Regions from separate parts of the Homo sapiens genome. Here all the other regions are linked to region 5. Evidence: promoter capture Hi-C in 16 types of primary human blood cells and fetal thymus (Javierre and others, 2016). All regions are on one chromosome and are shown on one strand. The core of a region is centred on a gene start or on the middle of the fragment in contact, and the rest is flanking DNA. Distances in the headings are between cores, read along the strand shown.

Region 1 (3,775 bases), core at 1,155-3,654, 1.9 Mb before region 5:
ATTTCTATTGAAAACAGGGTGTGGAAGATGGTTTCTACAACTGACTTTAAATGCTTTGTACCTAGTAGTTTGGAATTATTTTCTATATTGTAAATAAAACCCAAGGTTGGTATATTATTTTTATTGGATCAATATAATGTGTTTTTTTTTTTTTTTTTTTTTCCTCCAAAGGGCTCAGAAACTGTGGTAAAATATCTGGTTAAAATGGTGCTTTCTATTCTGACATAAAGAATTAATGGTAAACAAAAAAATCTATTTTGGGTGTGTTCGCAAATAATCCCTCATACCAGCCCTATTCTGTAAAAACACAGCCGGAACACTTTCTTTTTATCATAGCTATATTTTTATATTTTTTACTGTCTGTAATTTGCCTTGGTAATTCGCTTCTTTTTATGAGAAAACAAGTTTTCTTCCAAACAACCAGATACAATGTAGTCAAATAATTGCGGTCTTAACTTGCTACTGAAATCCTCCTGACTCCAGATAGAAATAATGTACAGGTATGCTATGGTATATATTTACATTCTGTGATGTTAGCAATAATCATAGCTATCCTTACTGAATGCTATGTCCTGTGTCAAGTGTTCCTCATTTAATTCCCACAAAACCCCACAATGGTAAACTGGGGCTCAGAGAAGTTTAACTTAACCAAGATCATACTCTTAGGGACTGCTTCAGAATTTCCGTATAGTAGAACCTAGTAGTATCCATCTGGCTTTAAGTTTAAGAAAAGTTCATAGGTTCATATTAAGAATGGGGGTAAGGATAGACCAATGAAGCAGAATTCAAACCCCAATTGCCCTGACCCGAATTCTGGCATTCTTCACCATCATGCCATACCACAGAAATACCAGATGGCAATGCTATCTTTTTCGAACTGCCAAAACAGAGCTATTCAAGGGAGCCGCCTCACAAGATAAAATGAGAAGCCCACATAAAGCCTCTAGTGGGGTGTGTGGATGGGAGAAGGTGCTTAACATGGCTGATTTTTTTTCTTCTTTTCCTCTTCAAATTTCAAGTTTTATGAACACAATTTTCTCATGATACAGCTTTTAAGAAATTGAACCAGATTGGGCCGAAATCTGACAATCTGTCCTCAGTTACCCACACAGAACTTCTGGGATACAATCTCTTCTCCCAGTGACTCCTACACAGCATTATTTTTAAGAATTTGATTTCCTAGGTACCACGGATATGAAAAGGCACAGAATTTCATAGTACAAAAAAGATGTCAAAAGAATTCGAAACAGAATAGGAAGAATTTATCATTTTCTTCCTCTGCTCCACCACATACCTAAGCAAAAATAAATTGTGTGTGTGTGTGTGTGTGTGTGTGTGTGTGTGTGTGTGTGTGTCTTTAAAACTAAGAAGTCATGTTAGAGTTTCTGGCTCTAGAATCAGTAGCAAGACTAATATGAGTGAAGTAGTCTTAAACAAGATTAATCTTAGTGCCCTAGCAGGCATTTGCCTAGAGAAAGGGTACATTTAAGCATGAAACCTATGACTAACCTGAAACTCTGTTTAAATCATAAAATATTCAGACAATGAGCTTCTTTTTTAGTAGCTTGCCTAGTTTTGCATTTGGGGAGAGTTATTTGGGAACATAATTTTGTTGTAAGTATTTCATGTTAATAACAGCTTTCCATTACTTTAGAAGCCTAGCTATTATAGCAGCAAGCTTGCAACCAAAAAACTAGAAAGAAAAACTTATTCTTTATTTAAAAACCAATTGCCTTTCTCAACTCCTTTTTCTTCTGAATCTTGATGAAAATCCTAAAACCCTAGAGACAGGGAAGTATACACTTTTGCTTTTCCTTATCTCTTATGGTTTTTGTTTTTCTCCACTTAACTGTTTACCTTTCTCTGCAATGAACTATAGATGCCTCTGATTGAGTGCAAGTCACCCAGCAGATACTGTGGTAAGTGCTTTGCAGATGTTGTGATGTTTTCTCTTTAGAGCACTAAGATTTCTCATTAGAATGATTAGGAGGTAGGGATTATTTCCCCTATTTTACAGATAAGAAGACTGAGACCTAGGAAGATTCTTACCAAAGATCATAGCTAGTAAATAATAAAATCAGGATTCAGACTCCAGTCAAGTCTGTCTGATACCAAAGACTATACATGCTTTTTAATTGCTAAGTTACACTGGGTTATCCATAGACTACAGAGTTTTCCTATCCATGAGGTAATATTTTTAAAAGATTTAGAACAATCTGTGGAATATAGTAAGTATGAGTTCATTAAATAAAATTGATCTTATTGTTTCTTCAGTTGTTCACCGTAAAATTGAACCTGAAGTGATTCTATGTTTGACTTTGAGAAAAAAAAATATGTCTTTTTTTTTTTTGACAGGGTCTCAGTCTATTACCCAGGCTGAAGTGCAGTGGCATCGTCTTGGCTCACTGCGACCTCTGCCTCCCAGCTTCAAGCAATCTTCCCACCTCAGCCACCCAAGTAGCTGGGATTACAGGCATGTGCCACCACACCAAGCTAATTTTTGTATTTTTAGTTGAGATGGGATTTCGCCATGTTGGTCAGGCTGGTCTCAAACTCCTGACCTCAGGTGATCTGCCCGCCTTGGCCTCCCAAAATGCTGGGATTACAGGTGTGAGACACTGCGCCTGGCCAAATCTATTTCTTTATGAATACATAATAGCCAACATTTGAGGGTGGTGTATTTTTTCCAGGCTTTATGCTAAGGGTTTTATGCATTATTAATTTATTTAACTATTTTTATTAAACAGCTACTATATGCCAAACAGTGTTCTAGGCATTGAGGAGTCAGCACTGAATAAAACACACATAGCTGTCTGCCTTCAAGGAGCTTATATCCTAGGATGTGTATGTATACATGTGTCTGGAGAGATGGATAATAAACAGCATAAATAAACAAAATATAAATTATGTCACAAGGATATGTAGATAAACACTATGGAGAATGAAGCAGGCTGGGTTTAGGGATGTGTGTTGGAATTTTAGGTGGAAGACAGGCATGTCTTCACTGAGGCAGTGATATTTAAATAAAGGCTTGTAGAAGATGAACTTTCAAACTATGGGGAATCTGACAGGCAGAGGGAAAAGCACATATCAAGGTCCTGAGGTTGGAGAGTGCTGGGTCTATTGGAGAAGAAGCTTAGAAGGGTAGTGTAGCTGGAACTGGTAAGGGAGGAAGAGGCTGGGAGAAAATGAGATTACAGAGATAAAAGGGAGCCAGATTCTGTAGGGATTTATAGGTCTTTGTAAGGACTTTGACTCTGACTCTGCTGACATGGGCAGCCATTGTTGGGTTTTCAGCAGGTAAGTGACAAGATTTGGCCTATTTTTAAAAGCTGCCTGCCAAATGATGTCAGAAATTTGACATATATTTTAACAAGCTGCTGTTGTATTCAACCTTGGCTGCTATTTTGAGAACAGACTGATGAAACCAAGGGAAGAAGTGTGGCAATCAATTAGACAACTATCGGAATAATCCAGTTGAGAGGAGTGGATGGCTCAGAGAAGGTCGATAGGAGTGGAAATGGTGAGAATGGTCAGTTTCTGAATATATTTTGAAGGTAGAGGCATCAGAATATGCTGATGGCATGGGTGTGTTGTATGAGCAAAAGAACAGTGTTGAGGATGACTTCAAGAATTTTAGCTTAAGCAATTTGGAAGAATGGAGTTACTGCTAATCAAGATAAAGAAACCTGAGGAAAGATTGCCTTTTTTAGAGGTAATATTAGGAATTCAAAATCTGGACATGTTAGCTTGGAGATGCTTGTTAGACATTCAT
Region 2 (3,703 bases), core at 377-2,876, 2.0 Mb before region 5:
ACTACTCTTCAAATAAGGGGACTCTTCATTCAATCTCTGCTCTTATTGTGGCAGGAGAGGTTTCCTGTCCCCTTCACCCTCTCTGGCCTTTCCATTTTTCAGCCTTACAAGAAGGAGTTCTTGTTTTGTTTTGATCTAGCCTAGCATGTGCTAAAGTTAAGCAGTTTGGTGCAGTCAGCATTGGGGTTTGGGTGGGGTATTTATATCTTGTAGTTGTTCCATTATGAACAACTGCAAGGCACAAGCTGATTCTAAGGAGGCTTCTGTTCTACTAAGACACATAGCAGAAATATGATTGTTGACATTAACCAAGCTTTATGGCTTGCAGCTTCACCCCCCTCCAGGAGAGAATGACTTTACTATCTAGAATTCAAGTTAGCTTTGTCAAAGATCAGATAGTTGTAGGTTTATAGCCTTATCTCTGGGTTCTGTATTCTGTTTCATTGGTCTATGTGTCTGTTTTTGTACCAGTACCATGCTGTTTGGGTTATTGTAGCCTTGTAGTATAGTTTGAAATCAGGTAGTGTGATGCCTCCAGCTTTGCTCTTTTGCTTAGGATTATCTTGGCTATTTGGGCTTTTTTTTGGTTTCATATAAATTTTAAAGTAGTTTTTTCTAGTTCTGTGAAGAATCTCAATGGTAGTTTAATAGGAATAGCACTGAATATTTAAATTGCTTTGGACAGTGTGGCCATTTTAATGATATTGATTCTTCCTATCCATGAGCATGAATTTCTTTATCTATTTGTTTGTGTCATCTCTGATTTCTTTGAGCAGTGTTTTGTAGTTATCAATGTAGAGATCTTTCACCTCCCTAGTTAGTTGTATTCCTACGTATTTTATTCTTTTTGTGGCAATTGTGAATGGGATTGTGTTCCAGATTTGGCTCTTGGCTTGACTGTTGTTGTACAGGAATGCTAATGATTTTTGTACTTGGATTATGGATCCTGAGACTTCGCTGGAGTCATCAGATTAAGGAGCTTTTAGACCAATGCTATGTGGTTTTCTAGATATAGAATCATGTCATCTGCAAATAGCGATAGTTTGACTTCCTCTCTTCATATTTAGATGCCGTTGTTTTTCTCTCTTGCCTGATTACTCTGGCCAGGATTTCCAATAGTATGTTGAAGAGGAGTGGTGAGAGAAGGCATCCTTGTCTTGTGCTAGTTTTCAAGGAGAATGCTTCCAGCTTTTTTCAATTCAGTATGATGTTGGCTGTGGGTTTGTCATAGATGGCTCTTAGTATTTTGCAGCTGGTTCCTTCAATACCTAGTTCTTGAGGGTTTTTAACATGAAGGCATACTGAATTTTATCAAAAGCCTTTTCTTCTACTGAGATAATCATGTGGTTTTTGTCCTTAGCTCTGCTTATATGATGAATCACATTTATTGACTTGCATATGTTGAACCAACCTTACATCCCATGGGTAAAGCCTACTTGATCATGGTGGATAAACTTTTTGATGTGCTGTTGGATTCAGTTTGCAAGTATTTTGTTGAGAATTTTTGCATTGACGTTCTTCAAGGATATTGGCCTGAAGTTTACTTTTTCTGTTGTGTTTCTGCCAGGTTTTGGTATCAGGCTGATGCTGGCCTCATAGAATGAGCTGGGAAGGAGTCCCATCTCGTCAATATTTTTCAAATAGTTTCAGCAGGAATGGTACCAGCTCTTCTTTGTGCATCTGGTAGAATTCAGCTGTGAATTGGTCTGGTGCTGGGCCTTTGTTGGTAGGCTATTTATTGCTCATTCAATTTGGGAGCTTGTTTTTGGTCTGTTCAGGGATTCAATTTCTTCCTGGTTCAGTCTTGGGGGGATGTACGTTTTGAGGAATTTATCTGTTTTTTCTGAATTTTCTAGTTTGTGTGCATTGAAGCTATGGATCTGATGGTTATTTGCATTTCTGTGGGGTCAGTGGTAATATCCACTTTGTAATTTCTAATTGATTTTATTTGGATCTTCTTTCTTTTCTTCTTTACTAGTCTAGCTAGCATAGTGGTCTATCTATTTTATTAATTTTTTGAAAAAACCAAGTCCTGGATTCATTGATCTAGTTACGCTTTTATTATCCTAAAGGATCTTACCTGGTTTTGTAACAAATTGAGCATTACTGTCTCAGCATTACTTACTTTCTTTGCTACTCCTTATCGAATCACAATTTTTCATATCATCTTTGGAACTAGCTTTGATATCCATCTGCTTCTCTCATGAATACATAAAATCAAATCTTAACAAGTGCTCACTGTTTGCATTAAAATTATATTTTAATGGGTGGGTAATAATGACTCAGTTTCCTGCTGGGCTCTAATTTCTCACTCTTGGCTTCCTTTTCAAATACTTTGCTAATTTTTTCATAAAGCAGATTCTGGGCTCCTTCCCCAGAAATTCTGATTCAGTGAGCTCTTGGAGAATAAGTATTTTTGAATGTTCTTCCTGTGATTCTAATGCATTACTAAGTTTGACTCACTGCCTTGATTAATATTAATAATCATATTAATACTAACAAATATTAAATTTATTATCTTAGATAAAATTAATAATAGTAGCTATTGATCATTTCCTTATTACCAGCCCCTGTGCTATGTGCTTTATATACATTGTGCCTTTTATTCTTATCTAATCTCTATCCAAACCCTAGACAAAAAGAGGCGGCTTGGAAAGCTCCATCCATTTTTTAAGGGTACCAGACAAAATAGAATACAAAAAGAGTGCTTTATACCGCAAAAATAAGAATAGCTGACATTAATCATGCTGTTTCTTTTTGCCAAGTTCACTGATAAGGAATTTACACTTGGGTACCCCTCCCTTTGCCCCAGACTGAACTTCAATTATTTTTGCATGATTACATTCATTCATTAAATCATCCTAATAGCATTTGTCAGCCTTCTACCATTTTCTAGCTACTGTCCTAAGGATACCAGGCAACACTGCACCTTATCTTTAAGAAGCTTATCAGCTTACAAAGCCAGGGAATCACTTTTTATAAAAAAAAATCAGGCCCTGGCCAATTTGCATACTTTTCTACCTGTATTCCAACACTTGCTCAGGATTATGATCTCCCAAATTCATGGCCTAGGACGAGAATCATTGCAGAGAGATCTGTCCAGACCTGATTACCTCTAATGTTGCAGAACTTTCTCCTTAGTTCAGCTAAAACCGGGCTCTTGTCACACAGCCAGGAAGGATTAGGCTCATGGACACATGGAAGGGTGAGAAAAATGGAATTTAGTGGGTGAAAAGGAAAAAGGAAAAATAACTCTCAGCAAAGTGAGAGAGAGTCCTTCTAGCAGGTTTCCCACCTCACAGATTGAATCCCAGGTCACCATACAGGGACAGGAGAGGCCAGGCTCCTCCTCACTGAAACACTGTGCACTTCCCGAGGCTCTACCCCATCCTCCCAGTGTGCAGATGGGGATTAGTCAAAAAGAATCCGCTGGGAAATGGCAGGCTTCATCTAGGACCACAGTCCAGCTTTTCAGCCTTGCTATTTTAGGCTTGAAGGTGGGGTTTCACCGGGGCACCCTTGGCTGCCTTCTGTCTCTATCACTAGATCTTTTGGGCCCTTTGTTAAAAGGCAATTATTTTAGGTACTACCTATCTCCACAAACTCTCAAGCAGAGTTTGGCAGGTATTGAAAACGTTCAGACTAAATCTTTTGGTTGGCTAAGAAATAGTTATACAGTACAGAGCCTGTAGATTGCAAGGGT
Region 3 (3,498 bases), core at 190-2,689, 2.0 Mb before region 5:
TTTAGGATATAGGGAGTCACACTGTCCTGAGATACTACTTCTTCTAAGTCATGTATCTTTTCCATTAATAAAGCAGATACCATTAAGGTAAAAGCAGAGAGACTGAGGCTAGAGGAGGAAGAAAAATACAGACAATTTTTTAAAGAGATAAAGGAGAGAAAAGCTTTCCTTAACGGAGAGAAAAGGTTTCATTTTTTCAGGACTAACCTAGAAAAATGCTTTATGGTTAGCTTAACAGTACCTATCCTGGAGAGACCATAAAATAAATGGTGCTGGAACAATTGGCTATGCATTATGGGGGAAAACACCAGAAATTGATTTCTTCTCCATATAACAAGGGGCTAAAAAGTTTTAAATGTGAAAAGCAAAACTTTAAAATCTTTAGAAGAACTATTGAGACTGCTTTTATGACTATGGGATAAGGCAAAAAGACACAAACCCATACAAATGTAACACTTCAACCCTATGTAGATACCCAAAGAAACCCTTGCACACACGGTAGATACACTGCTTACAGACCATTGTTTGTAAAAGCAAGACTGGAGACAAACATAATGTCTATTAGCAGAAAAATGGATCAATGCGTGATGATATACTCATGGTATAATACAGACCAGTAAACAGAGCGTCACCAAGTACTCACATAACTGAACTGCAGAAACTTAGGAGTAAAAAAAGCAAGTTACAGAAGAAAAGCACAGCATTGTATCATTTATATAAAAGTCAAAAACATGCCAAGTAATACTACAATTTTTAAGAATAGATACATACCTAGTAAAAATATAAAGAAATGCTCAAAATGATAAACTAGTAATCTCTGAGGGGAAGATATGGGATGTAATTAAAGAATATGCAGGGTGTTTTAGATAGATTTAATATTGTTTTCACATTTCACTCTAAATGCAAGGGACATGCTATTATACTTTTTATCTTATTGCATATATTACATCTTATGATAAATATAAAAATCAAATCTATTAATAAACAACATAAAGTCTCCCTCTCCTTTATAAGCATTGCCTTTGGAGAGTCATACTAGTTTTTCCTGGACTTTCCATGTTGCTGAAATGAACACAATTGCTTTCTTCAAGAGTAGTGCAGCTTTCAATTTCTCAAAGATGTATTAGTTATTGAACTAAGGAAATGGTTACTGGACTTTTTGTGAAGAGTCACGTTACACCCCAGGAGGCTAGTGCTAATAGAGATGAACGTCCTTGGTACTTTAGAGTGAATCAGGTACCTACAAGATTGAGAGAGGCACTGATGAACCAAAAAGAAAAAAAATTAATCTAATGGTAGAATATCAAACTCTGAACTATGGGTGATATGCCTGGGTAATAGCTATATTTTTCAATGCAATTAGACTGGAAGGACAACATTTTATTTGTTTATTGATTGAGCCAGGGTCTCCCTCTGTCGCCCAGGCTGGAGTACAGTGTGATTATGGCTCACTGCAGTCTCAACCTCTTATGCTCAAGTGATCCTCCCACCTCAGCTTCCCAAGTAGCTGGGTCTATAGGTGTACACCACCATGCCTGACTAATATTTTTATTTTTGTAGAGACAGGGTCTTACTATATTACAGGCTGGTCTCGAACTCCTGGGCTGAAGCACATGGCCTCTCAAATTGCTGGGATAACAGGTGTGAATCATTACACCCAGCCAAGGACAAAATATTTAAAAGTCAAAATTACATTAAGCGTCATTGTAGCAAAATTACATTTTCTTTCTAAGGTATAGTTAAAACTTCTTCCAATCAAGAAGTTTGAAAACAGCATCTATAAATTCATTAATTCTCTCATTTAGTAAAATATTTGTCCCAGGTGGCAAGTGTGTGTGTACACACATGCACACACACACACAAATATGTAAAGTTCTTTTTGTTTTACAAAGATGGTATACTATATATACTTCCTGATAAAATTAAAATATATTCAGGGAAAACTTTACCATGTCAGTATTTATTCTCTTTTTAATATGGCTAAAATCTTATCACCATCTCAGAAATTGTAGAATTTCAGAATTGAAATGCTTTAAAGAATCTAATACAATTTCTTCATTTTATATAGAGAAAATTAAGGCACAAAAATTACTTATTCAAAATCTTACCAAGTTTTTTACCCATAACAGGGTGAGCACTAAGATATGTATTTACCACTGTCAGTTCAAAAGTATGCAAGAAATGTGTCACTTAGTTACATGAAAAGAAATAGATGGTTGGGCACAGTGGCTCATTCCTGTAATTCCAGCATATTGGGAGGCTAAGGTGGGAGGACTGCTTGAGCCCAGGAGTTCAAGACTAGCCTCAGCAACATAGTGATACTCTGTCTCTACAAAAATATGTAAAAAAAATTCCAAGTGTGGTGGTAGCGTGTGCCTGTGGTCCTAGCTACTCGGCAGGCTGAGGAGGGAGGACTTCAGCCCGAAAGGTCAAGGCTGCAGTAAGCCATGAATGCACCACTGCACTCCAGCCGAGGCAACAGAGCAAGAGCCTGTCAAAAAAAAAAAAAAAAAAAAAGAAAAAGATGTGAGGTCACCTTTACACACTCATGATTAGATACATGAAACATGCATTTTCCTGATCTGGACTATACAATTAAAGAAAGACATGAAGAATTCGGAAGGGATTTAGAGATTAATCCAAAGGCAATTAGAAAAAGAAAATAAGTTATGGGGCGGAAAAAAAACAAAAAACAAAACATCGAAGTAGAGAATATTAAGCTTGCTAAGGAGGAAGCCAAAAGCAGGGCTTTGTTCATGGTGGGCACTTAATGGCTTGGAACTTCATTGGGAAAACTCATAGAACAAGGGTGGAAAACATTTTCCAAGTTCCTAAACCAGGAAAATCTCAAGCAGGGGACTTATTTCTCCCCCTATACTTGCAAATATATATTTGATATTATTTTTCCCATCACTTGAAGATGAAATATTCTTTTACTTTTTTTGACCAAAAACTGAGAATAGACAAAACTTTGAAAGGCACAACAAATGCTACAAATACATCTTATTTCTAGATTAGAGTCAATTAAAGATCAAAGGGAAGGAAGAGATATAAACAGAAGGGTGAGACATCAAAAGGATAGAGACAGAGGTAGGGATAGAAGCCATACCCTAGGCATTAGCTATAGTGTTCTTCTTTAAAATCCTGATAAACTGCTTGCTTTTTACAGCTCTCTAACTGTTCAAATTCATAGGCTCTATTCTGATCAGAATAGCTTAATTGTCGATGTGTATAAAATGATTTTTGGAGCAGTGTCAGCAAATAGAGCACTATCAGCCTGGGAATGGGCCTGGGGAAATTGGGGGGTGTGCATGGGAGGGGAGGCAGATGAAATGAAGCCTGTTAGGATGGTAGTGAATGAATACTCTCTTCCAGATCTTGACTAGGGACAACAGGTTCCCTGCTTTAGTCTCAGAGGATGGTGACATGACCCCATCTCCAATAAAGAGAAAAGAACCAAGCTCCAATTGCAACGTGAGAAATTTAAATTTGTGATTA
Region 4 (3,665 bases), core at 331-2,830, 1.9 Mb before region 5:
TCAATGGACCTGCTATTGTGCTGGGTGATGAGGATTAGGGAGAAAATACACACACAATCTTTGTCTTAAAGAAGCATACAGTCTAGAAGGGAGATAAAAATTAATCAAAGAATCAAACTAATAAATGGAAAGATACAACTGTGGTAGATACTTTGAAAGAGAAGACTATTTTAATATAAGAGTGTATAATGAGGGAATAGAGGGTTTAACCTCATCAGAGAAGTCAAGGAAAACATCCGCAAGGAAGTTATGGTTGCGGTGCGACTTTAAGTATAGGAGTTAACAAGACACATGGAGGAAATAAGAGTATTCCAGGCAAAAGGACTAAAATCTGCAAAAGTCTTGAGGGAGGAAGAAGAATGACATGTCTGAAGAACTCAAAAGGGTCCAGAATGGGAGGAAAGCAGAGGACAAAGAGGAAGTGGGGCTGATGTGGTTTGGATCTGTGTCCCCATCCAAATCTCATGTTCAACTGTAATCCCCAATCTTGGAGGTCAGGTCTGGTGGGAGGTGATTGGATCATGGAGGCTGTTTCTCATGGTTTAACATCATCCCCCTTGGAGCGGTTGTTGCAATAGTGAGTTCTCATGACATCTGGTTGTTTAAAAGTGTGTAGTACTTCCCCCTCCTCTCTCTTCATCCTGCTTTGGCCACGTGAAGTGCTGGCTCCCCCTTCACCTTCTGCCATGACTGTAAATTCCCTGAGGCCTCCCCAGAAGCAAATGCTGCCATGCTTCCTATGAAGCCTGCAGAACCATGGGCCAATTAAACCTTTTTTCTTTATAAATTACCCAGTCTCAGCTATCTCTTTATAGCAATGTAAGAATGGACTAACATGGGGACACAAGATGGCATTGAGATTCAGACACTACAGGGCTTTTTGGGCTATGGTAAGAATTGTGGTCTTTATCCTAAGGACAGTCAGTGAGCACTCTTGAGGTGTACAGGGCAATGATGTTATGAGTAAGGATGCTGCATCACAGAGATCAGCTGATGTTTGGGCAGAGAGTTGGTCTTCATCAAGCTTCATATTAGTCAGCTGAGTCTCCACTTTTCTATCATTATGTTTATAGGGAAGAGTAATTTAATGTGAACTCTTCAATCCAGAGTGGGGCTTGTAAGTTTTTGTTTGGGAGTGCATTATCAAAAAAGCACTGAATATAATTCCAGGTAACATTAAAAAATTATCAGGCTATGTCCATTTGCTCAATAAATGGTGGCTATTTTGCAGAAGCCATTAGGATACAAATAAGGGAAATCTGGCTTTGAGTTACATCTGATAAACATTTATTTAGGGGACAAAATATTGGGAATATCCAAACAATAGAATATCTTGTTTCATTCTGTTTAAAATCTAATAGAATAAAATAATTAATATAGAACTTTTATGGCATGTAATTTTTAAATTAAAGTTTTAAATACTTGTTGTGTGTTAACTTAGGAGAAACTGGATATAGGGTATTGTGTACCCTATCTCCATATCACCTCAAGTAAAACACAACAAATCACCAAATGATAATTTAACATTGACAAGGTACCATCATTGACAAGGTGCCAACATTGACAAGGTACCATAATCATTAAAATCAAGCCTTTATTGATCTCCTTCTCCTCCTCCTCCTTCTTCTTCATCATTGTCATCGTCCTTGTCATCATCGTCTCCCCTTTTCAGGCCCTCTGATTTCTGTGTCATTCCTCCAACTCCCACATCATGTTCTTTCTTGCCTCCTCTAGCCATGGAGAAGATGTATCAGGGAGAGCATGAACTTTGGAGTCAGTTATACATTGGTTTGGCTCTCAGCAACACCTGTCAACAGTGTGATCTTGAGCAAATCATTTAGCCTTTTGCAGTTCATGTTCCTTTTACTGTAAATTCAAGATAATGGCATTTCTCAGGGGTATTGTGAGAATTAACTTAGTTTATTAGGTAAAGCACTTATTCTAGTTTCTGTGGGATTATGTTTTTCAATGATGGTGGTTGCAATAGCTCCCATCCCATACACTCTTTTACATGACCAGCTACCCTAATATTCAAAGATAGGGATTATTTCTTCTCTGTGACTTGTGACTGCTTTGACCACAGAGTATGATGGAAATGATGACTATGACTTCCAAGACTGGGTAATGAAAGACATTGAAGCTTCTGCTTTGTTTACTGAAACACTTCCTCTGGGGGCCCTGAGCTGTCATGTAAGAAATCTGATCACCCTGAGGCAACTCAGGCACACAGAGAGACTACTGGGAGGCTCTGTCAACAGCTTCTGTTGAGATCCCAGCCACCAGCCTGCATTAGCTGCCAGTTGTGTGAGGGGAGAGACCTATAGATGATTTTAGTTCCCAGCAATCAAGTCTTTCCAGCTGTGGCTCCAAACATGGGAGCACAGATAAACTATTCCCACTGTGCTGTCTGAATTTCTGGCCCATAAAATCTGTGAATATGATAAAATAGTTGTTTGAAGCTGGTTGTGGGGTAGGTAAGTGTTGGTAGCAACTGGAACAGTTTTCAATAAATTATAGTAATTAATACCATGATCATGATTATTATTATTACCTACTTTACAGGGTAATTTTTATGTAATACATTACCAGAAAAGTAAACCAACCAATACTGCTGATTATGAACACACTTAAAGCCTAGAAGATGTTGTAGACTATTTCTTAATTTTCCCTCTAAGTCATTGTTTTCAATGGGTGTCCAACGGTGTCTTCTCTCTCAGGACTTCCTCCTACTTCTCTAATTTTCCCACCATCTTGTCTGTCCACTGTTCTTCCCTGCAAGCAACACCTGATGAGCAGGTCCTGGGCTATTTTCCATGCTCAGTGACTCTGACGTTAGGAGGAGGCATGTGATTTCAGATTCTTCATTTATGTCATAAATATTTATTGAGCTTCTTTTATGTAGCACTGGGAATGTGGCAATGACTGAGACAGATAACCTTGCCCTTATGGAGCTTTCTTTCCATTTTGGGGAATTAAACAATGTGTCAGATAAATAATCAAAATATACAGTACGGGAGAAGGAAGTAAGCCCCTTGGAGGCAGAGACTTGAGAAAGGGAGAGTAGGGGGCAGTAGTGCCATTTAAGAGAGAGTTACAAGGATGATGTCATTGAGAAGAGGCAATTTCAGTAAAATCTTGAAAGAGGCAAAGAAAGAAAGCTTTATGGATATCTGGAGAATGTGTTTAGTGCAGAAGAACCAGGAAAATCAAAGATCTGAGCTGGCTCATGGGCATGAGTGTTCAAGGAACACCAAGAAGGCCGGTGTGGATGAAACAAACTGGCAGGAACTGTGGACAGTGAAGCAAGTGAACTAAATACTGTCCAGTCTCGTAGGACATTGTGAGGAATTTGATTTTGTCTCTAAGATGGGAGAACAATAGAAGATTTGGACAAGAAAGAATATTATCTGACTTTCATTTTAACAGGCTCCCTCTGGCTGCTCTTTTGAAAATAGACTGTCGAGAGATGTGGTTGGGAACAGGGAGACCCATTAGGAGGCCATTCCAACCATTTAGGCAGGGAATGAGTACTACTTGAAGCCATGATAATAGGAATGAAGAAGGTGAGAAACAGCCTCTGGCTTTGCTGATGAATTGGATGTGTCACGGATGACATTGTGGTTTTTGTTCTGAAAACTAGAAGCCTATCATGACTATTTCTGAAA
Region 5 (3,896 bases), core at 873-3,372:
GGCCTCAGACCCCATCTCTTAAAAAAAAAAGATTCAGTCAGGGTAACCAACCATTCCAGTTGGCCCAGGACCAAGGGTTTTCCCAGGATAGGGAAGTTTTAGTGCTAAAACCAGTACAGTTCCAGGCAAACCAAGATGGTTGGTGATCCTAACCCTCAGAAGGTGAGGGAGGCTTTAACTCAGGAGGCAGGAGGCTAACTCCTGTTAAAGTTTGATGGATGAGATACATACTTTTCCCTCTTTTTGACCTCACTCCATTCCTCTTCCTCTTCTAGCACAAGCCCTACCATGTCTCCCACATGCCTGGTTCTTCAGCCTGGGGTGTTACATGTCACTCTTCCGTAATCACACTTGGAGTATTGTGAAATCATTCTGCCTTGTACCTAGGCCTCCTTGATTATTTCAAACTCAGCTGAAGCCAAAACCCTTGAGTTTTCATTTCAAAAGGGTGGAAATGATTGGCAGTCTCTAAAAATAAAGTTCCACTTGGTCAGGGTTCAACATTTTAAGAATAAAGAGATACCATTTCACCCAAGCCAGCCCTTTTCTTGTCACCAGCCAAGAAAGGCCAGAAGGAACAAATCAGTTGCCCTCTTTTCAAGTTTGCATGGAGAAAAGATAGCAACCACTTTCTTCCCAAGCCCAGTTTTCTTTTCCCTGGTTCCTTATAAGTAGAGGTTGATTCGATAGTCCAACTAAAGAGCAAAAGCTAGGGGAAAAACTCACCCTATTCCCTACCTCAAGTTGGAAATAAAATGTTCATCTTCAGATGACATGTGTGACAACAGAGGTGAGTATATGTTGAGTAAGGAAAGATCCTCAGGACACCTGAAGAAGTTACTTCCAAACCAATTCATAGTGAGAAGTGTTTTCTTGTCCTTTGGGCTATCCTTTTTCCCTTTGGCAATAAGCTGGTTTCTAAACTTCGGATTAGTCCAAAGTGAAACATCTCTTGAAAGAATGTTCCCTTAATATTCTGGAACCTGAGGTCATAGCAGTGTAACTAACAGACATCTTTTTTCTTTAAAAACAGGTATACACCTAACTGTGGACACATTCATCTTACTAATCTGTAGGGAGATATTGCTGGAGTATAGAGTAAATAGAAGAAAAAGACTTATCTTTGGTGGAAAACTCTTTAAGAGATGCCTCTAGTAAACATTTATCTAGCTAAGTGCCACTTGACCGTTCCTTGGAAGATTCAGAAGGCTGAAAATTTCTGCCATGCCATGTGACTGAGAAGCAGCAGAGACCTCTCTTCATCCCCTGAACTGCTGGTCCAATTCAGCCAGATGATGCAAGTCCCATAGCCAACCCAAAAGCAGGAGCAAAAAAAAGTCTTTCAGCGCAGGTATTGTATTTGAATCCATCTTATGAAAGGTGGTCTCCTCAAGTTTGAGCTATGGTAGATTGTCACAAGCCTCAAAGCCTTTTCAGAACTTCTAGAAATTCTCTGCTCTTCCATTAACTTCATTGATAATGCCAGGAAAGTGGCATTTCTTTCCTACCCAGTCCAGACGGAATCTAGTAACTGAAGCAAGGCTTGCCTGGTGATGTCCTCACAACAGCTCTGAATCCTCAAGGTCTCAGGAGCCTCTGAATCATGCCTCTGGCACATGTCTTATGGAGGTGTGGACCCTAGAAATATTAGGAAATATCCTAAGACAAAAAATTAGGCAAAATTTCACGTTGAGGAAAGGGCTCTGCAATCATAATTTGACATTACATTAGAAAGACATCAGGAGGATACTGCCAATTATATCATATATTCTTTTCATCAGACCCATAGAGAATGGTTGCTTAGGGTTCTGAACTTCAAAGCATTTATTGAACCAGGTTGTTAGGAAAAGCCTATAATACCTTCCAAATCAAGATTCCTCAGACATAGCTTCATAACTGCCTTCAATCATGGGGTTCTGGGCAACTGTCATTGTCTTCTTAACAGTAAGGATGTACCCTACATTAAGGACAGGTATGTTTTTTCTGCTTACTACTCTATTCCAAGTGCTGACCACAGTGTCTGGCACATAAAAAGCACTCAATAATTTGTTGAATAAATGTGCCCTACATGAAAATTCAGGTTTATAAGAATAACAGAAATTAAGAGGTGATTACTAGCTTTGCAAAAAAAAAAAAAAAAAAAAAAAAAGATTTACAGTAAGATTCCTTTGAAGAGTAAACCACCATGGTACATATAAGCTATGACTCCATATTTTTACATTTCATTTGCGCCCAACTTTTCTAATCAAACGTCTATTGTATGAAGTGACTAATCCACATGCTACACAGCTTTTTCATTTAAAAATAAAATGAAAAGAATAGAAAAGGCATGTGCTTTATAAAAGAATGCCAAATATTTATGAAAAAGAAATAATAGCATTAGAATATCACCATTTTGCATAGCCCCAGCATAACAACATATCAGGAAGGAAATTCAGAAGCATTAAAACCATTAGATAAAAAAGATTAGGAACCAAATATTCTCAAGGTGCAAAAATATAACTATTCCACATATTTCTAATTGCAAAAGAGAAAATGTACCTTAACTATGAAAAATTCCAGAAGTACTCAAAATGCATATTTACATTGGAAAGTTCTGAAAGTGTAAGAAAAAAAAAGTACCCTTACAATAAAAGCTCTGGGTGTGATTTTAACAAATATGCCTTTACATCAGAAGGTCCTAGAAGTGATCAAAATGTATCTTTAACATTACCCTTCACCCTTCCTCCATGATTGTAGGTTCCTGAGGCCTCCCCAGCCATGCCTCCTGTATAGCCTGTGGAACTGAGTCAATTAAAACTCTTTTTTAAATAAATTACCCAGTCTCAGGTAGTTTTTTATAGCAGTATAAAAACACACTAGGCCAGATGCAGTGGCTCACACCTGTAATCCCAGCACTTTGGGAGGCTGAGACGGGCAGATCATCTGAGGTCAGGAGTTTCAGACCAGCCTGGCCAACGTGGTGAAACCCCATCTCTACTTAAAAATACAAAAATTAGCCAGGCGTGGTGGCAGGCACTGTAATCCCAGCTACTCAGGAGGCTGAGGCAAGAGGATCGCTTGAACCTGGAAGGCAGAGGTTGCAGTGAGCCAAGATCATTCGACTGCACTCCAGTCTAGATGACAGAGCAAGATTCTGTCTCAAAAAAAAAAAAAAGAAAAAGAAAAGAAAACACACTAATACAAGCTCTATGCACAGCAGAGGGCCATTACAAATCTTATTGATGCTGTAAATTTTGGGGTGAAGTATTTTCTACCTGACTGGGGTCCATATAAACTTCTCCTTTCTCTGACCTCCTAATGGCCCTGGTAACACTGGCCTTGGTCAAATACATTCCTGTTTTCCATGCACGAATTCTTTGTTGTCTAAGTGCAATGAAGATGGAGGCCAGGGCTCTAATTCAACTCTGCTGCTAATACATAGGATCTTGAGCCAGTGACTTTGACCTGTTTCTTCATGTGGCTTCCTTGCTATTCCTTCAGCACACCAGCTACATGCCCCTGCCTCAGGGCAAAAAATGCTTTTGACCACATACGTGCTAACAAAACTACATATGCATTTACCCTCAGACCCACAAGCCCACTTCTACAAATTTACTCTGAAGATATACCTCCACAAAAGTGAAATGACATTATTCATGAGGTTACTCACTATATCATTCCATACACATTCTATAAAATATTAAAAACTTAGAAACAACCTATATGTCCATCCATGGAGACTGGTTGAATAAACTAAGGTACACCTTTACAATAGTATTACATGAGCAAGGAAAGAAGAGGGGCAAAAGAGGAAGGAGGGAAGAAAAAGGAAGAGAAAAAAAGATTTTTTCTTTTTTTTTTTTTTTTTTTTGTGATGGAGTCTCGCTCTGTCGCCCAGGCTGGAGTGCAGTGGT
Region 6 (3,618 bases), core at 989-3,488, 1.9 Mb before region 5:
TGATTGTCGTTAATGTGCGACATTCAATGTACACCATTCTTCACTTTGCCAAATGGGTAATAGAGCAGCTTTTATCTTTATTTCCCTTTCTTTCATGGCTGGGGGATAGAGGGAAAATATTTTTTAATACTGTTGTAAAAACGGAAATTCTTATTGCTTTAATGTCAAAGCCACACCTGTCAGTGGGGACATTGAATGGGAATCATTGGTGGAAGTCCTCCCTGATAAGTGAGCAAAGGGATGCTGGGGAGAGGGTAGATGAGTTCTGAGTTACTCTGTAGAAGTGGTGGTCGTTGAGAAACTTGTTTCTGTCATTTCTGCTCAAAAACTCACAATGACTACTTAGTGTTTACAGAATTAAGTTCAAACTCCTCCACTGTTCTTTCACTGGTGCCTTTTGCTCCAGCCAAACTGGATAATTGACTGTTCTTTTCCCAACTGCTGCTCCCCTCCATATACCCCCTGACACACTTACACACATATTTTTTCAACCACTTTTCCCTTCTACATAGAACCTTTAGCTTCTGTTTTCTAGGTTCCACCTGTCCTTCAAAGTGCAATAGCAACTCTGTCTAGTCATGATATTTCCTCTCATTCCTCTCATCCTCCCTCCCTAAGCCCTGAAGACAGCTGGCTGAGTTATCCTTCCTCAGATTTCTTTAAGAAATCTCACCTCCTCTTTGGGGGTGTTTACCAGCTTTTGCCTCCACTTATCTCTCTCTAGACTTGTCTGCTAAATTATCTCAACAGCCGAGACAGTTCCCTGTTTTTCTATGCATCTCAGGCTAACAGTGAGTGTTTGCGGCAGTGCTTCTGCATGGAGCTGCGTATTTCCATTTTTTTTTTTTTCAGCAGTACAAATAAACTTTAGGCCTTTTCTGATAACATGTTAAATATAAAGTATTTTTCTTATATGGTCAATACAAGTGAATTTCTTTCACCATTCATGCTGTAAAAGGCAGAATAATTAATAATGAAGGTAAATGTAGAGACAGGCTTGCATTTCTTGAGGCTACAGTGAGAAGGGATCAGTTTCTTATAGGGCTTGGCAGGGTATGTCAAGTTGGTGGACCAAAGGGGGCATCTCATTGCTGACTTTGGGAGCTTAAGACTTCACAAGTGGAAAGAAATTAGTAATTGAAATTGGGACTCAGTTGAGGATGCTGGGTAAGTGAACAGTGTTACTCAGGGTGACTTTCAGTTTCTCTTCTTCAAGGTTTCAGGTTGATGCAAGAGACTGTGATAACACTGCCCCCTTCTGTTACTCTAGATTGTTAATCCTGATGACGTCTCAAGTCGGCTTTGATGATCTTGACATGAATTTTTGATTTCTAAGAAATGCTTACTTAAGGCAGAAGAGAAAGGAAATCATATGTTCAATGTGATACACGATTTCATTCTATCAAGTTCTGCCTTTTTATAGTTTGCTTAATCATTACATTTTGTCATGAGGTTTCACTTAATTGCATTATAATGGGAGATTTTAGACCAGGGAACGAATAAAGCGAAGGATTGTAACAAAATCAATTAATTCATCTATTTATTTGTGTTCTAAGGGGTTACATGATTTCTTCTAGTTCCTAGAGCTTTCCTATTTCTTCCCTTGGAAGTTAAAGCAAGCCACTGGTTGAGGCACTGTGGCTTTTTCATTTATGACAGAACCTTTCAGATTTTAAGAGCAGTTGAAGAGCTGTGAATGCTGGTCCTTCACATATCAAAAACCAGCACCACTTTCTATGAATATCACTATTTTTGAAATGATTTATCTCAGAACTTTTGAATGTCTCTGTAACCATTTTTTTCCCTTTCCTTATCAGCCCATTTGTATGGAACTCTAAAGAAGGTGAGGCCAGATAGCAGAGAGCTTTGAATATACACCAAGGACTTTGGAGTTTATTCTATGAGCAGTGGTGAGCCAATTAAGATATCTGGGCAAATAATGGCATCTTTAGAAAGAGGACACTGTTAGCTTTGTGTCAAATGAACTGAGATGTAAAAACTTGAAAGGAGGAAGAACATTAACAGGTCCATATAGAAATACCACCACCTGTACCCCCAAAATCCTTGCTAGCTTTTCCTCATGTATTCTACTTCACTCTGGTCTGAGACATCATCATATATCACTAAATCCCTGTAAATTCTCCCCACTGATCTCCCTACAACTAATTTTGTTTCCCTGACAATCTGTTATCCCCATATCAGCCAAAGTCACCTTTTAAAAAGTAAGCAAACCAGAACATGTCACTTCTAACTTTAAATTCCCAATGACTTCCCATAACACATAGAATGAAATCTGTGGTTTGGTCCCTGCCTACTTCTCAGACCTGCACTCTCACCCTTGCTCATTGGGATCCAACTTGCTGGCTTTCTTGGTTCCTTGAACAAGCCGAGCTTAGTTTCACCTCAGACAGCTGAGCCTTTGCTGTTTCCATTCCACCTGCCTAGAGCACACTGTTCCCAGCATTTCACATAGCTGGCTCCCCTCCCCAGAGTCTCAGCCTGCAGTATCAATCCTCTTCTCCTTGCCCCAAACAAGATTTTTTAAATATTACCTATTCTATTTTATTCATAGCTCATTTCACTATATGAAATGATCTTGCTCATTTATTTGTTTATTTGTTTATGATCTGTGTGTCTGGCCTATAATGGAAGTTCCATGATGGCAAAGAGCTGGTCTACTTTATTCATTTCTGGATCCCCAACACATAGAGCTTATAGCTTAGTGTTGTGCCTGGCTCATGGCTCCATAATTATTTCTTAGTCAAATTTGGGTAAAAGGCAAAGAACAAAGGTACGACAAATGGAAGCGAAGAGAAGAGATATCTGAAAGAAGTATAGTAGAGAAAGTGGGTAGACTTAATTATTGAGTGTTGGGTGCCAATGGAAAGGGAGGGATCAGATGATGGATTTTCACTTGGACTGAGAAACCTGTGATGCTCTTAACACAGAAGGAGAACTTGGAGAAATGAAAAAGATGAGAGTGGAAAACAGATATTTAGCTTAGGACTCGAGTGTAAGGTGCTGGTAGATCTCTGTAAAAATGCCCAGCAGGTGTATGGAAGTTGAGAAGAAAGCAAGGCCAAGCATTTAGGTGTTACAGTCATTTGCATACAGTGAAGATGGTTCACCGAGACTGAATTAGTCAACAAGGGGGAATATTTAGGAAGAAAGAAGAGAACATTAAAAATGTGCAGACTTTCACTCAGATATCCTTGTATATAAAGCACCATGCTGGGACAAGTGACATCTAACAAATGAGGAACAAGCTCTGGAGCTTATGGGGCCAGAGATGGTGACACTGATAACTTGTCAAGTAGAAAATGTGTTATCCATGCGGGAAACATTACAACACTGCCGTATGGTGCTCTTTGACTTATCCAAACCACCTCTCAGTAGGAGGCTCTGCATCCTCAAGGGAGATTTATATGATTGCTCTGTTTCCTTCCCTTCACATCTGTAAGGGGTCCAGAGTAAGGATTGGTCAATGTTAGTGATGTGGCTCTACCCTGAGCTCTTGTGGAGCTAATAATTAGAACAGTTTGGGGAAGGAGAGAATTCATTTTTAAAAAGACACGAAGCAATGTGTTTGTAATAGCAAATGATACATTTGTTGAGCAT
Region 7 (3,676 bases), core at 777-3,276, 1.9 Mb before region 5:
GCTGAACTTCATTTAAGATCTATGTAAAAGGAACTAGATCCTTCAGAATTGTCAATCACATTTAAACACCTTCAGACAGCTGAGGTGGTAGAATTACTGACATAAAAGGAAGCCAGAGAGGGAAGAAATGAAACAATGATACTGAAGCCTTTTAAGTAAGGGGTTCTTAGAGGTCAGTTCATTTGCTTAAATGAAGATACCCTGCAGATTCCTCATTTTATGATATGGCATTATTCTAAACTATAAACTGTGAGCCATTGATCCCTGAAAGGAAAAGAGTAAATCAGCCTGCACTCTTTGGTACTTGATTTTAACTGCCGATTTTCAACAGGCCCAGGAGTTGGGTGAAGTAAATTCCACAAGAAATATGTTTCCAGTGTTAACATTTGATTTCCTCTATTCTTATTCTAAAACAAATCCAGAATTCAGGATTAAAATATCTAAATTTCTTTAAACATAAAAGTAGGACTGAATTTCTTGGACTGGTTTTTTTCCTTAGTTATGTTTAATCATTTGGCAATGGTGCCGGGAACCTTGGTAGAGAGGCTAGTGGGAAGCCAAGTCATTCTCTACTAAGCTATCACACATTTGGTTAAGACACATGTATTGCATAGCCAGAACAACCTGTGGAAAAAAACGAAATCAGTAATCAGTTCAGGAGTATATTGATGTGCGATAACAAACATCATTTGGTTCATTAATCCTATCTGTGGCCTTTATCTACAATCTATATCTTTCTTTATGCTAGAGCTTAGTGGACAGGTATTGTCTTCTTCCTTTTGGTAAATTTCCCACTAGTGTAGAGATAAGATTCCGGCTTTTTAGCTTTCTATAAAGGAATATGACATTATCTATAATTCTGAAGCAGAAATATCTTCTCCAAACTTTTTGGAGAAGTACATCTTAAAGATAGTTCCAATGCAGCTTTGTAATATTTACCATGTTCTCCGATTTTGAATATTTGAAAACATAGCATCGTAAGAAGCTTCAACCAAATAAATGGAAACATACCAGTTATACCCTCCAAAAAGACCACATTGGATTTATAGTCACTTGCTTACATAAATGAGACCCACACACTGAAATTTATTTGTCTACCAGTGGCATTTCTGTGTTCATCAAAGGCTCATCTGTCCAACACGATTTCCCTTTAGATTTATCTGGACAGGCTCCATTCTCCTGACTATGTCGTTTCTTCTTTCTTTGTTGAATTGCTGAGAGATTGCTGAGGAACAGTTTGTTCTCCATCTCTCCATGGACAGGCTAGCACAAATGCACAGGAACTTCATACCAGCAGCATATATCTTGCAAATGATATACTTCCCCTTTGTACCCACCATCTAGAGCTAAGTGTTAACTCTTCCTCTGTCTTAGGACCAATAAAACTGACAGCTGGCTTTCTAGGGTGCATAACAGCTTCCGTGCAGCTGCTTAGCCATAATTATTTAATTAGAAGCTGCCAACTGTGCCTATATAAGCATTAATTCATCAAGCTGTTGTGCTCGGGTTAATGGGACGAAACCATGGGAGATGCTCTAAAGAAGGGAGTTGGCTGCATGCAAAGATGCTTTTCACAAAGGAACTCAACTTCCTCCTGGGCTTAGGGGGAAATATATATATATATATATTTATATGTGTGTATATATATAAATATATATATATTTATATGTGTATATATATACACATATATATGTGTGTATGTATGTATATATATGTGTGTGTATATATATGTATATATATATATATACAAGCTCCTTAGATCTAAGGAATTAACAATTTAAGCAATCAGTCTTTTTTAATAACACAGGAATAAGGCAGAGTCACTTTGCATGGATCAATATCTCAGTAAAAAATAAACAGCAAGAAATTAGTGCATAGCATGATGGTTCATAATCATGGGGAGAGACTTCTTGTTTCCCTGTTTGCCTATTTTTTCTTCTGAGTCTTCCAAGAAAAATTGGGGAGACCGAAATCTACCTATCAACCATGAATAAGTTAGATTCTTACCTCATTTAAATTTTCATGTGGACCTAGAGTTGATGGTCAATATCAGGTGGTTTTCAGTGTGTGTTTTGTTAGTGTAGAACTATGAACAATGAAAAAGTCAACAGGTATTTGTATGTGCTTAAGAGGCAGGTAAGAAATGTGTTTGTCTACATCACTCACACACCAAAATACAGGTGAAATGCTATGGATTATGATTCACTTATATGCAACTAAAAGAGTTAATATGAGTGATAGAGGAACATAGAAAAGAAACGTCTACCCTAGGGATTGCCTTACAAAGTATTTTAGACATGTCCTTTGCTTTAATTTAAAACAATAAGAAGGTTTCTTTACTACTTTCCCAACCAACTGACTGAATAATTACTTTTCAAGCATTATGTGGAAGGTGAGGTCATAAATATCAGAAAATGCCTTCTTGATTCACCTCTAAATAAAATGAGAACTATGTAATCTGCAAAAGACAAGTCCTGATTTTGAACTAGATACTCAATAACAATTCACATCACTTAGGAACCAAATGACAGGTGCATGGAAATAAATGAACCTTTATTTCCAGAGCCATCTTCTGATGCCTGAGAGAGTGGGAAGATTGTTCTTGGTTGGAGAGAATTATGCACATTTCCATAAGCCTACTCATGAGTGAGTTACTTCAGCCAAATGCCTGAAAGCACTAAGATTTAAAGGCATTTGCCTCTAATAAAGCTGTGATAACGTGACCACACTTAGGGAGGTTAATTCATAGGACACTTATTCTGAAAACATACACTCTGAATTCTATGAATTATGGAAACAGACACACTGATTCATCATCTTTTCAACAAATTGCAGCTTGTAAGTGCATTTTAACCTTTCTTCTCTTTACTTATTTTCCTAAAATTTAGAGTTGCTTCCACAGAAGTCTCTAAATTACCTTTTAGATGCAGTATATATCTTCAGGATTATTGATTAAGATAGGCTGTTGGAAAAAAGTAGATCAAGAAATTATCTTCCATTTATAATTCAGCTGTGTGACCTCGTATTGGGGAGAAATATATGCTTTGGCCACTGTGAATAATTTAGCTAAGCTTGACTTTAACAAGCTTCAATAAGAGCATGTGCCTTCATAAGAAAACAGGTGGAAATGCATCTACCCTAAGATTATTCTAGCCTTTTTTTTCTCCTGGCTACTTGAAAGATACCAGTACAGGTTGAGCATCCCTACTTCAAAAATTCCATGTCCAAAATGATTCAAAATCCAGGACTTCTTGAGCACCAGCATGATGCCACAAGTGGAAAATTCCACATATAAGTACTCAACACAAACTTTGTTTCATGTCCCAAATTATTAAAACTATTGTATACAATTACATTAGGCTATGTGTATAATGTGCATATAAAACATAAATGAATTGCATGTTCAAACTTGAGTCTTAGCCCTAAGATATGTCATTACATATATGCAAATATCATAAAATCTGAAAAAATCCAAAATCTGAAACATGTCCAGTTCAGGCATTTTGAGTAAGGGATATTCAACCTGTAATAATTTCAATTTTTATTACCTATAGAGATATGGTATTGGCACATTCAAAGTGAAACATCAGGGATAGCAGAGTGGCCAAAATCATAAGGTATGTGATGTTTGGTCCTTACACTACCAGCATCTCTCTCTGTGACTTCCTTCTGTTGT

The links. The method cuts DNA at HindIII sites, captures the fragments that hold promoters and counts their contacts. A CHiCAGO score of 5 or more calls a contact.
Region 1: a contact is called between a fragment that was not itself captured here and the fragment with the promoter of PLAC8L1 in region 5, in 6 of 17 cell types (naive CD8 T cells, naive B cells, total B cells and 3 more). The highest score is 12.1, in naive CD8 T cells.
Region 2: a contact is called between a fragment that was not itself captured here and the fragment with the promoter of PLAC8L1 in region 5, in 1 of 17 cell types (neutrophils). The highest score is 5.9, in neutrophils.
Region 3: a contact is called between a fragment that was not itself captured here and the fragment with the promoter of PLAC8L1 in region 5, in 5 of 17 cell types (neutrophils, M0 macrophages, total B cells and 2 more). The highest score is 9.1, in neutrophils.
Region 4: a contact is called between a fragment that was not itself captured here and the fragment with the promoter of PLAC8L1 in region 5, in 5 of 17 cell types (total B cells, naive CD8 T cells, naive B cells and 2 more). The highest score is 12.4, in total B cells.
Region 6: a fragment that was not itself captured here is called in contact with the fragment with the promoter of PLAC8L1 in region 5 in 5 of 17 cell types (M0 macrophages, M2 macrophages, total B cells and 2 more); the score reaches 7.8 in M0 macrophages.
Region 7: a contact is called between a fragment that was not itself captured here and the fragment with the promoter of PLAC8L1 in region 5, in 14 of 17 cell types (total B cells, naive B cells, naive CD8 T cells and 11 more). The highest score is 25.7, in total B cells.

The regions. Positions count from the first base shown.
Region 1 is chr5:144,224,243-144,228,017 of GRCh38, forward strand. The region is part of intron 3 of KCTD16 (potassium channel tetramerization domain containing 16); the gene reads left to right. Among named protein-coding and RNA genes, the nearest start is that of KCTD16, 55 kb to the left of the region's middle. The HindIII fragment of the contact is 1,457 bases long and covers 1,677-3,133 here.
Region 2 is chr5:144,119,436-144,123,138 of GRCh38, forward strand. No RefSeq gene overlaps it. Among named protein-coding and RNA genes, the nearest start is that of YIPF5, 49 kb to the right of the region's middle. The HindIII fragment of the contact is 2,631 bases long and covers 312-2,942 here.
Region 3 is chr5:144,148,987-144,152,484 of GRCh38, forward strand. No RefSeq gene overlaps it. Among named protein-coding and RNA genes, the nearest start is that of YIPF5, 20 kb to the right of the region's middle. The HindIII fragment of the contact is 2,557 bases long and covers 162-2,718 here.
Region 4 is chr5:144,245,129-144,248,793 of GRCh38, forward strand. All of the region lies in intron 3 of KCTD16 (potassium channel tetramerization domain containing 16), which reads left to right. Among named protein-coding and RNA genes, the nearest start is that of KCTD16, 76 kb to the left of the region's middle. The HindIII fragment of the contact is 1,116 bases long and covers 1,023-2,138 here.
Region 5 is chr5:146,103,455-146,107,350 of GRCh38, forward strand. It overlaps PLAC8L1 (PLAC8 like 1), which reads right to left and starts at 2,123. Exons shown (of 4, transcript NM_001029869.3): 1 at 739-2,123. The coding sequence starts at 857. RefSeq lists a silencer at 218-418. The HindIII fragment of the contact is 7,482 bases long and covers 1-3,896 here.
Region 6 is chr5:144,190,987-144,194,604 of GRCh38, forward strand. All of the region lies in intron 2 of KCTD16 (potassium channel tetramerization domain containing 16), which reads left to right. Among named protein-coding and RNA genes, the nearest start is that of KCTD16, 22 kb to the left of the region's middle. The HindIII fragment of the contact is 5,543 bases long and covers 1-3,618 here.
Region 7 is chr5:144,208,178-144,211,853 of GRCh38, forward strand. The region is part of intron 3 of KCTD16 (potassium channel tetramerization domain containing 16); the gene reads left to right. Among named protein-coding and RNA genes, the nearest start is that of KCTD16, 39 kb to the left of the region's middle. The HindIII fragment of the contact is 2,086 bases long and covers 984-3,069 here.